Regions from separate parts of the Homo sapiens genome. Here region 1 is linked to region 2. The links are contacts of gene promoters, found by promoter capture Hi-C in blood cells and fetal thymus (Javierre and others, 2016). All regions are on one chromosome and are shown on one strand. Each heading gives the region's core, a stretch centred on a gene start or on the middle of the fragment in contact. The rest is flanking DNA. Distances are from core to core; before and after follow the strand shown. Region 1 overlaps KCNIP1 (potassium voltage-gated channel interacting protein 1). Region 2 holds the start of LCP2 (lymphocyte cytosolic protein 2).

Evidence for each region. The method cuts DNA at HindIII sites, captures the fragments that hold promoters and counts their contacts. A CHiCAGO score of 5 or more calls a contact.
Region 1: a contact is called between a fragment that was not itself captured here and the fragment with the promoter of LCP2 in region 2, in 1 of 17 cell types (M0 macrophages). The highest score is 6.2, in M0 macrophages.

What each region holds. Positions count from the first base shown.
Region 1 is chr5:170,620,879-170,626,322 of GRCh38, reverse strand. All of the region lies in intron 1 of KCNIP1 (potassium voltage-gated channel interacting protein 1), which reads right to left. Among named protein-coding and RNA genes, the nearest start is that of KCNIP1-AS1, 58 kb to the left of the region's middle. RefSeq lists enhancers at 481-980, 2,464-2,758. The HindIII fragment of the contact is 6,388 bases long and covers 603-5,444 here.
Region 2 is chr5:170,294,797-170,300,260 of GRCh38, reverse strand. It overlaps LCP2 (lymphocyte cytosolic protein 2), which reads left to right and starts at 2,484. Exons shown (of 21, transcript NM_005565.5): 1 at 2,484-2,727. The coding sequence starts at 2,650. RefSeq lists an enhancer at 3,302-3,381. The HindIII fragment of the contact is 7,744 bases long and covers 1-3,655 here.

The DNA.
Region 1 (5,444 bases), core at 2,547-5,046, 320 kb before region 2:
ACCTAACAGCTGGGGAGCCTTGGACAAGTGACTGAATATTCCTGAGCTTCAGTTTCCATTTGCTGGGTGCAGATGCTCCTACCTGCATGACAACGTTAGTGCAAGGGTTAAAGCCAGTAATGATTAGAGCATGCGTGGCACAGGCCTGGCATGCATACAGTTGTTCTACATAGCAGCTACAGGCATGATCATATCCCTCCTCTGCTTCAAACCTTCCAGCACCTTCCAAACTCCTTCCCATCACCTGCAAGGCCCTGCAGGGTCTGGTTCCAGCCTCCTCTCCAACCTTATCCCACGCCACTCACCTCATCGCTCAGTATACTTTGGGCCTCTTTAGTTTTGCTAAGCCCAGTGAGGTTGTTCCCACTTGGGGTTCTGCCTTGCCTGCAATGCCCATCCCCCAGGTCACTGCTCAGTGGCTCTGTCTTGTCGCAGTCTCACCTCACTCGCTGGGTCCAAAGCAGCATCATCTGCCCAGTCCCCATCCCACTTAATCTCTAAGCATCATGTTTTACCGCGTTTCTAACACTTTGCACTCCTGAAATCATCCTAACAGCAGGTGGAACCAGACACCCTGCTGCCTCTGGGTTTTGACTAAAGCTTGCAACCTGGGGATAATGAATGGGAAGTAGCTGGGCAGCCCTGTATTCTGAATAGAGCTGTTGGGTGCTTGTAAGACTAGCCGAGGGAAAGTGGGATTGATTTTGTGACCACCGCCCCATCCCAGATATGTCAGTGAAAGCTAGAAATTTCCAAGGAAATTGGTGGGAGTGCATTCAGAGGAGTAGATAGCACTGTGAATTTTTCTCCTTCCCTTCCATAGAGGGGCGCCCCCGCAGGTCACAGCCCAGCGATGGGGAGCCGGAGATGAGGGTGCCCATGAGAAGGGGATGCTGGTAGCTTACGCCGCAGCCAGGGGTCCTGAGCTGCAGACGTGTAGTGCAGCCACAGGCCCGATGCTTGGTGACAGAGCTCTTGTATTCTTGGGGCTTGGGGTTGTCTGGGAACACAGAGACTGGAAAATCCAGGAGGCAGCCTCAGGTACCAACTAGAGAGAAGGTAGCTGCACACGTGTGCACACGTGTGCCCTGTGGGAGCACAAGGGTTTGTGACTTTCCTGCGGCCACGTGGGCTCTGAAGAAGGTGAGCAGGTTTAAGGGGCTTGGGTGAGATGCCCTCCCCTCAGTACCCAGAGGGCTGCTGCTGGGACCAGAGGACCAGAGTAGAAAGAGGCTCTGAATGGGGTGGCTGGGGACATGGGATGTTCATCAAAACTCAGCTCACGAGGGCATCCATCTGCAATAGACTGGAAGAGAGCCCTCTCTGCTATAGTGCCCCAGGGAAGAGCCTGCATCTGGATGACCATGTGCCATGCTGGAGAACATTCCAGTCAGCCCATGTTGGCCAACAGAAAGTCACCAACAGGCCCAGCTAAGACAGAAGACCCTGCCTCTACTCTGCCAATCCTCCTCCTGCCCTGGGCCAGGGTAAGGATGGTGAGGAAGGAAAGGAGAGTGAGGAAGCCAGCTGCGCTTTTCTCCCCTTCTCCCCCACTCCCCTCCCCTCTCCTCCCCTCCCCTCTCCCCCCCCACCTCCCCGGTCTCCTTTCCTCTCCTCCCCTCCCCTCTCCTCTCCTCCCCTCCACACAAGAACTGAGGCACCAAGACAGGTCTGAGCTCACGGGCAGGCGAAACGTTTAAACTGCGTGTGAGATTGACATTTTAATTGGATGGGACTTTCCAATGCTTGAAAACTGAAATTATTATTGTGATGAGAACCGAAGTGATCAGAAATATAGGAGAATAGCCAGAGATGTTGTAAAATGATTGTAAAATGGAGAGGAAGGAAAACGAGAGAATACAGTTAAAGATAGAGTTTGGAGAAAGGAAGGTGTTTGTTGTTTGTACCCCTTCGTCAGTCAATCAATTGGTTACCTTCTGCTTCACTTAGTTGTTAATTCATTTCCTTCCTCCTCACCTCCACTTGACTCTAAGCTCAGCAAGATCAGAGACTGTTCCTTTTTTCAAGGTCTCTGCTGTATCCCCTGCACCTAGAATGGCTACTGGAGAATGGCACATAGTAGATGCTCAATAAATATGGTTTGGATTAGTGAAAGAACAACAAAATAGGTGCTCAAATGTGTTGATTTATGGGTATGACCTATTTGATTATGCTGTTCGAATCTTTTATTTTGTACTCGAGGAATGAGTTTGCCCTGGTTAAAGTAGCCCAGAAAACCTGGGCCCGGGAGCTGAGAGGACCAGGGGATGGATTGCCCAGGTCAGGGCATCAGGCCAGGGCCACTATTTCCCAGACACGGGGCCACTGGAGGCAGGGAGCATAGAGCCTCAGGGAGTCGGTTCCTTGGGGCTGGCTGGGCGTGGAGTGAAGGCTGGGCCTGGCCTCAGTTCTGGGACACAGGTGTGGCTGAGCTCCTGCTGAGAATAGATTTGGAAGGGCTGGAGGCTCAGGGCCCCCAATGTAAGACCTCCCAGTGTCCAAATGAGAACCTTTTCCTGAGTACTTGGGCCCCGCACTTGACATCATGTGCGTTAGTCTTCAGGCCACCAGAAGGGGGCAGCGCCGTCACGCCATTTTGCAGAGCCTTGATAAGCCCATTTGGAGTTCAGCCCCTCCCGCCATCCTCACTATCCCTTTTCGTCCCAGACTTCTTTACCTGAAACTTCATGAAGCACTTTTCGCATCGGTTTCGTCTGAGGGGAGAGGTTGGGGAAAGGAGGGTGTATTTGCCTCTTAGGGTCACCATAACAAAGTATCACAGGCTGGGGTGGTTTAAGACAGGGGTCCCCGGGCAGGTCGTGGTGGCTCACGCCTGTAATCCCAGCACTTTGGGAGGCTGAGGTGGGCGGATCACTTGAGGTCGGGAGTTCAAGACCAGCCTGACCAACATGGAGAAACCCCATCTCTACTAAAAATACAAAAATTAGCCAGGTATGGTGGCGGGTGCCTGTAATCCCAGCTACTTGGGAGGCTGAGGGAGGAGAATGGCTTGAACCCAGGAGGCGGAGGTTGAAGAGTCGAGATCGTGCCATTGCACTCCAGCCTGGGCAACAAGAGCGAAACTCCATCTCAAAAAAAAGAAAAAAAAAAAGACAGGGGTCGCCAATCCCCTGGGCCACGGATGGGTCTGTGGCCTGTTAGGACCCCGGCTGCACAGCAGGTGAGCTGGCGAGCAAGCATTACCGCCTGAGCTCCGCTCCTGTCAGATCAGCCGCCGCATTAGGTTCTCATAGGAGCATGAACCCTATTGCGAACTGCGCATGCGAAGGATCTAGGTTGCTCACTCCTTATGAGAATCTAACTAATGCTAATGCCTGATGATCAGAGGCGGAACAGTTTCATCCTGAAACCATCTCCCACCCCACACACCCTGTCCGTGGAAAAATTGTCTTCCACTGAACCAAAACCGGTTTCTGGTGCCAAAAGGGTTGGGGACCACTGGTTTAAAGCAACAGCTACTTATCCCTTCCCAGCTCTGGAGGCTGGGAGTCTGAAGTCAGGGTGTCAGCAGGGCTGTGCTCCCTCCAAAGGCTCTAGGAAAACCCTTCCTAGGCTTCCCTGGCTTCTGGTGGCCCCAGACACTCCTTAGCCTCGCGCTGCATCCCACTAACCTCTGCCTGTCTTTGCACACAGCCTTCTTCACTGCCTCTCTGTATCCACTCTTTTTTTTTTTTTTTTTGAGACAGAGTCTCACGCTTGTCACCTAGGCTGGAGTGCAGTGGCGCGATCTCGGCTCACTGCAACCTCTGCCTCCTGGGTTCAAGCAATTCTCTTGCCTCAGCCTCCCGAGTAGCTGGGATTATGGGTGCTCACCACCACACCCAGCTAATTTTTGTATTTTTAGTAGAGACGGGGTTTCACCATGTTGGCCAGGCTGGTCTTGAACTCCTAACCTCAAGTGATCTGCCTGCCTCAGCCTCCCAAAGTGCTGGGATTACAGGCGTGAGCTACTGGCCCCGGCCTGTATCCCTTCTTTTTATAAGGACATCAGTCACTGGATTTCGGATAGACCCCAAATCCAAGATGATTTCATCTTGAGACCCATAACTGAATTAAACTTGCAAAGATGCTATTTCTGAAAAAGGTCACATTTGAAGGTTCTGAGTGAATATGAATTTGGGAAGGACGCGGCTCCACCCACCACAGACGGAATCTTGATTGAGAACACATTTTGCTCCAGGGACCGTGCAAAGCACCTTCATCCTTGACAAACTGGAAGGGAAGCAGTATTATTTCCAGTTTTGTTGTTTTCTAGACAAGGAAAGTGAGGCTCAAAGGGATTCAATGACTTGCTGCAAGTCACACGGCTGCTTGCAAGGGGAACTGGGACTGGAACTCAGGACAGCAGACTCCACACGTCTCTATACTGGCTTATGAGCAGCTTGAGGACAGAGGTTTTGGTCTTCGTCGTTCCATCTCTCTTCTCCTCTCATTTCTGGGCCTAGTGCTCTGCATACTGATGGCTTTGAAAACTGATAAAAAGAAGGGAATAAGGCCAGGTGCAGTGGCTCACAGTTGTAATCCCAGCACTTTGGGAGTCCAAGGCGGGAGGATCACTCAAGCCTAGGAATTTGAAACCAGCCTGGGCAACACAGTGAGACCCTGTCTCTACAAAAAATTGAAAAATTAGCTAGGCGTGGTGGCATGTGCCTGTGGCTCTAGCTACTTGGGAGGCTGAAGTGGGAGTCACTTGAGCCCAGGAGTTTAAGGCTGCAGTGAGCTATGATGGTGCCAGTGCACTCCAGCCTGGGTGACAGAGCAATAAATCAATACATAAATAAAAATAAAAATAATAAAGAGGAGTATGACTGACCTGCAGAGATTCAAGTGCTGACCCTCATGGCTGCTGGGGTGCTCACAGATCTCCCCCACACCACACTCTGTGGGGACAAGTGAGAATGCCCTCTCTTACTACCTTGCTGCATCTGCTCCACTGAGGAACGTTGCAGCCCCTATAATCTTAGATCTACACTAGCCCTGGAAAGCAGGAAGGGCAGCCATAATGATGATAAAAATCTCAACCACAGCTGCCATTGATCAAATGCCTACTGGCCTACAGGGTCTAGGCCAGACTGTTTCTATGCCTAATGTCTTGGAATCTCCAGGGCAGCCCAGCTAGGTGACCCTTAGTATCCCCATTTTGCAGATGGGAAAATCGAGGCTCAGAGAAAAGAGTGTGACTTTGGGAGCTTGGAAGAAGTTGAGCTAGGATTCTGGCCTGAGTCTCCCTGAGTCTGGAGTTGGTGTTCTTTCTGGGGCCTATCTTGCTTTTTCTCCAGCTTCCCTGCCACAGCTTCCCAGTGTGACCAGTGATGGACACCTCTAACACATAGCAGACTCCCTCAGTAAAGGGAGGAGATGGAAGGATCCTGGAAGCAGAGCATACAGGCTGTCAGTCAAGAGGATACCTGCATCCTTGGGGA
Region 2 (5,464 bases), core at 1,235-3,734:
TGGATCCTCCATCTTGGCCACATTAATTGGATAATTCTTTCTAAAGGAGCCTAATATTTAGTGATACCTTCATTACAACTGCTTTTTTGTAGATTTTTCTTATCCTGAGTGGGGTGAACATCATTAAGAAAATTAGGCCAGTCTTGGTGGCTTACACCTATAATCCCAGCGCTTTGTAATGCCAAGATGGGAGGGTCGCTTGAGACCAAGAGTTCAAGAACAGCCTGGAAAACAAAGCAAGACTCCATCTCCACAAAAGAGTAAAAATAAAAAAATTAGCCGAGCATGGTGGTGCATGCCTGTACTCCCAGCCACTTGGGAGGCTGAGGTGAGAGGATCACTTGATCCCAGGAGTTCGAGGCTATAGTAAGCTATAATTGTGCCACTGCGTTCCAGGCTGGGCAATAGAGGGAGGCCCCATCTCTAAACATAAAACAAAAGCAAATAAAAAGGAGAAATTAAAATAAAATAAAGTAAAATTGCTTCTACTTTTAAGGATGATCTGGAATGTTCCTTTTCATAGGTGGCATGTGTTTTGAGAGATAGCGAGAGAGAGATTGATTGATCCACGTCAGGAATGCCCTCCCTTTTACTCCATCCTCCACGGCCCTGCTTAAATCCCAGTTAATTCCATGACATCTTCTGTGCTTACTCTACTTCAAAGTGATTTCTCTCTCTCTTTCTCTTCAAATGGCTTTTTATTGTTCACTGCTATGCTAGTGATTTGAAAGACCAGGTGACCTCTCACCCGTGATGGAGCTTTTGTACAGCAGAGCTGTGCTTTATACAGAATGATCAGCTACAAAGAGCTCTTAGGTGCGGCCCAGGCACAATGGCTCACGCCTGTAATCCCAACACTTTGGAAGGCCTAGGCGGGCAGATCACCTGAGGTTGGGAGTTCCAGGCCAGCCTGGCCAACAGGGATAAACCCCGTCTTTACTAAAAATACAAAATTAGCTGGGCGTGGTGGTGCATGCCTGTAATCCCAGCTACTCGGGAGGCTGAGGAAAGAGAATCGCTTGAACCTGGGAGGCAGCGGAGGTTGCAGTGAGCCGAGATGGCACCATTGCACTCCAGCCCGGGCAACAAGAGCGAAACTCCGTCTCAATAAAAAAAAAAAAAAAAAAAGAAAGAAAGAAAGAAAGAGAGAAAAGAAAAGAGTTCTTAGGTGTGAGGCCCTGCAAGGAGCAAATGGCCTGGGCTACCTTCACTGATGCCCTCAGCACCTTCTAAGGTGAGGCTAACACCAGCTCACATTGATGAGCTAGTGCTGGGCCTGGAGCAAAATGTGTATTTCATTTAAGCTGCCCACCAGCTTGTGAGGCAGGTGCATTACCGTGACGGCGGGGCTCCTCAGAGTGTGTATAAGAAGAAAACTGTGCATGGCCAAAGCTATGCTTGAAAACCCTCAGGAAGGCACCACCTCAAGGACCAACATAGCATCACTTAGTAAAGGCAACAGCCTTGGAACAGATGACTCGTGTGTGTGTGTGTGTGTGTGTGTGTGTGTGTGTGGCATTAGATGAAGTAGTAACTTGTGTTTAGAGGTTGCCTTATTGCACAAATATAGTTGCTTTTATACACTGGACTCACCCTCTGCCAATAAGTTGTTCAGTTATGAGAAATGAACAATGTCTGAAACTAAGAAAACAGCAAATTCTCACCTCCTATCTCCAGGGAATGTGCTCTTTGGCTAGAATATATGGCAGAATCAATAGTGAATAAAATATATTGTGGAAACAATAGTGAATGGAATATATGACACTACCAATAGCAATTGTTAAGTTTTTTTTCTTTTTAATTTTTCTTTTTAGGTTTGTCTAGTTGAATGCATCTAAGTTTTATGTGCATATGAAGAATCACTGTTTTCCTATTATACAGATTTGGAAACTGAGATTCCCAGCTTTTAACTCCTTGCCTAAGGTTGCATAGCACAGAAATAGTCATATCAGAAACTGAGCCCTGTCTGCACAGTGTAGCACCTTGTTCAGCCCTGGGTGCCTGACTCACTCACTCCTTGAGGACCCTCTCATGACAACTGTAAAGAGGCAGCTGAAAGAATCCCAGTCTTTGATGGTGGGAGGGGAAAGTGGTTGGAAAGCATTAAAAAAACATGCTCCAGCAGTTCACTGATGTGGGAAATTGTCTGTATTTCAGGTCAACCGTCAGGATAGATTTTGGTCTGCAAAGCCCCAGCTGAGCAAGAATGCAGTGTAGACATATGGGTGCCCAGAGTTTAAAGGAAAATTACTCAGACTCACATTGGAGTTTAAGACCCCTTCATTGCCTCTCCTACTGGGTTGGGGTGACTGGAGCCAGTGGGGAATTACCAACCCTGTGGCTCTCTCTGCATCTCAAGCCTCCAGAGCTGGGCTTCCTTGTTTACTTATTTAGAGCCCAGCAGAGGAAGTGGTAAAGGAAACTAGCTGAGTCGTTTTCTGAGAAGAGACCATATTTGTTCGCAGAGGAAGCCGTTGCTTTCTGGGATCTGGCTACGCCAGAAAAGACATCGGCTCCAACAGGGGTGTTCCACAGGGTAGCTGGGAGTTGGAAGAGCCAAGAACGCCTCCGAGCTCTGGATTTGAGCTTCTCTGCCCATGGGTGAAGCGCCCATGCTCAGCTTGTGAGCTTCTTCCCGGGAGAGCAGCCATGGCACTGAGGAATGTGCCCTTTCGCTCAGAGGTCCTGGGCTGGGACCCCGACAGCCTTGCTGACTATTTCAAGAAGGTAAGCCTTGCTCTTGTGTGAATGGTCATGATGCTAGTGCCCTTGGTGGGCTGAGCTGAGGCTTGACGATGGAATTGGGGCAGAATGTGGGAGGTGTATAAGATAGCAATGGAACCCTATGGCAACTTTACTGGTTGAGTGAGCGCCATATAGACCGCTGAGTTTTCCTGACCATGAGTTCCGGAGAGAAGGATGGGAGCAGAAGCCCTCAAATGAGTATGTGCCTATTATGTGCTAGGGTTTGAATTCGGTGTCTCACAGGCACTGTCCCATTTAGCGCTCCCTACTATGTTGTGAGGTCAGCATTGTTATCCCCTTGACTCAGCTGCAAAATCAGCTCAGGGAAGTGAAATGGTCCGAAGCCCTAGGGACTACATGTGATAGAGGCAAGACTCAAGCCACACCTATCTGGTTTTAAAGTCCATGCTCTGAGATGCAGAGAACTGTTGTAACTGCTAATGAGATCAACGCTACTTACTAGAAAGGGGAGACGTGGTGTCCTGGAGGCAGGAGAAAGAATAGGCAGGGTGGGAGGGCTGGATAGAGGACTATGATGAGCAGTGCCAGACACAGCATTTGGGCTTTCACTGCTCACGACCCTAAGGGGGGTCCTCAAGCTCCCGCCTGGGGCAGTCTCCTTGGAGCCTTATGAGAGTCTTGTGAAGCAGGACAGAAAACTGATGTGAGCCCCAATTTATAGCTATGAAAACTGAGGCCCCTAGAGGAAAAGAGGCTTGTGGCGGTGCTGGGACCAGAGCGTTGCTGTCTTATCTTCTGGACTTAGAGGAAAGGTTGAAGGATCCCTGTGCTTGGTCATTGGCAGAAGGGGACAACGCATCTGCTTGGGCAGATCTCAAGCCACATGACTTAGTTATAGTCCCTCTACCCTGACCATGTGGTAAGATGACTTGTGCGAGACGGTTAAGCTTCTAACACCCTCATCCCTGCAGGCTGGCATCGGATTCTGTTGATATTCCAGACTGTCATAAAGATGAGATTGTAAAGCTAAGATGGTAGAAGTCATCTAATTCAGCTTCGTGTTTTTCCTGGGGAAATTGAGATTCAAGAGGGTAGACGAGGTTCCCTAGGACGTATAGCCAAACCTGGGGTCTATGCATTTCCGAGGCATTTATAGTCACAGCTGTTCTCCCCCAACCTGAAGAAGAAAATGAGAACATGTTGAACTAGGTGTGGTATGGTAGGGGTACAGTTCACAGATCCTGTTTTTTGCCATATTTTGTGCTTTCATTTCTGTTATTTTCCTTCTGCAAGGTCATAATAAACTTAGATTTCAGCAAATATTGTTGCGCAACTGGTTTTTTGAAGGATGTTTCTAAATATCTTGCTCAAATATAGACCAAATAAGATAGGGCAACAAGGTAAAATTTGCCAAGAGGGAATAAAGTGGCATGTTACCTTGATAAGGGAAAAAGAAAGGAATTGAGAATTATGAAGAGAAAGACTTGGGACGGGCTGAGAGGCACAGATAGGCCTAACATTCAGGTGTGACCAGGAGAATTATACAATCCAATTGAGCAACAGAGAATTGATCCCTAAAACTCCCATCAGTACAGGGAGATGGACCACGGGTCAGGGATGGTACAGGAAGACCTCACTGCCTGAGCTGGGGGAAGGGAGAGTTTTCTTCCTGGAGATCTCAGACCCCAGGACAAATCTACAGCACCCAGGCAGGTTCCTTCTTCTGCCATAAATGGACTGAGGGAAGAAACTAGGAGACTGAGGCAAATCTGTGATCCTGGAAGTTCTAGTCCCTCCACAGACTTGGATAGAAACCCTTCAGATTCTGAGTACCTCAGCCCCCTGAAAGAAACTACCAAACGAATGGACCGCAGAGTCATTTGGGAATGGATCTTAGCTGTCAAACATGACATGTAAAGAATTGATCTGCAGATGCAAACTCTACCCAAGTAGTGGGGTCAGGCCTCCCTTGGAGACAGCTCTCGACTCAGCTCTGAGGTCGGACACACTTTACCCTGGCTCTGCCACCTGCTAGCTTGGCGACTTTCCTGTAGTTGCTTTGCCTCTCTGTGCCTCAACTTCCTCATCAGTGAAATAGAGATATGAACAGTAACTAACCCAATGGGTTGGTTGTGAGGATTAAAGCAAATGATGTGTGCAAGGCACTCAGCAGACAAATGGATCCTAATGCGTGTTCCTTCTGCCCTTTTACCTTCTCTATTAACTGGCTCCTAGCTGGGGACACCCATGCAGACTGGTGGGACTTTGCGTCTTCTTGTCTCTGACATGGGTACCTCGTCCTGTGTCTGGAATATAAGCTCCTGAGGACAGAGACCATGTTACATATTTGTTCAATCTCTCCAATTCCTTTTGACTTGCAGGAGAACATCCTTGGGTCGTGCAGTGGAGAGGCACTGGCTCAGAGCTGTGTGTCCTAATCCCAGGTGGGGTCCCAGCTGGTATCCCAGCTCACTGTGTGACCTTAGACCAGCCTCTTTCCCTCTAGAGGCCTCAGTCTTCCTTACTACAAATCCAGGTAACTTTTCTGGACCAGTGCCTACCAATGCTGGATGCCATAGGAATCGTCTAGGGTGCTCCTTAAAAATACAGATTTGAGGTCCACAAGCCTAGATCTTGCTGGAGCAGAATCAAATGCCTGGGTCCCAGTCTGCAGGACTCTCTGCTGATCTAGACACAAAGTTAGCACTCTTCAAAATCATCTGGTTTATCTCATAATGATAACAGTGAGAATGATGAA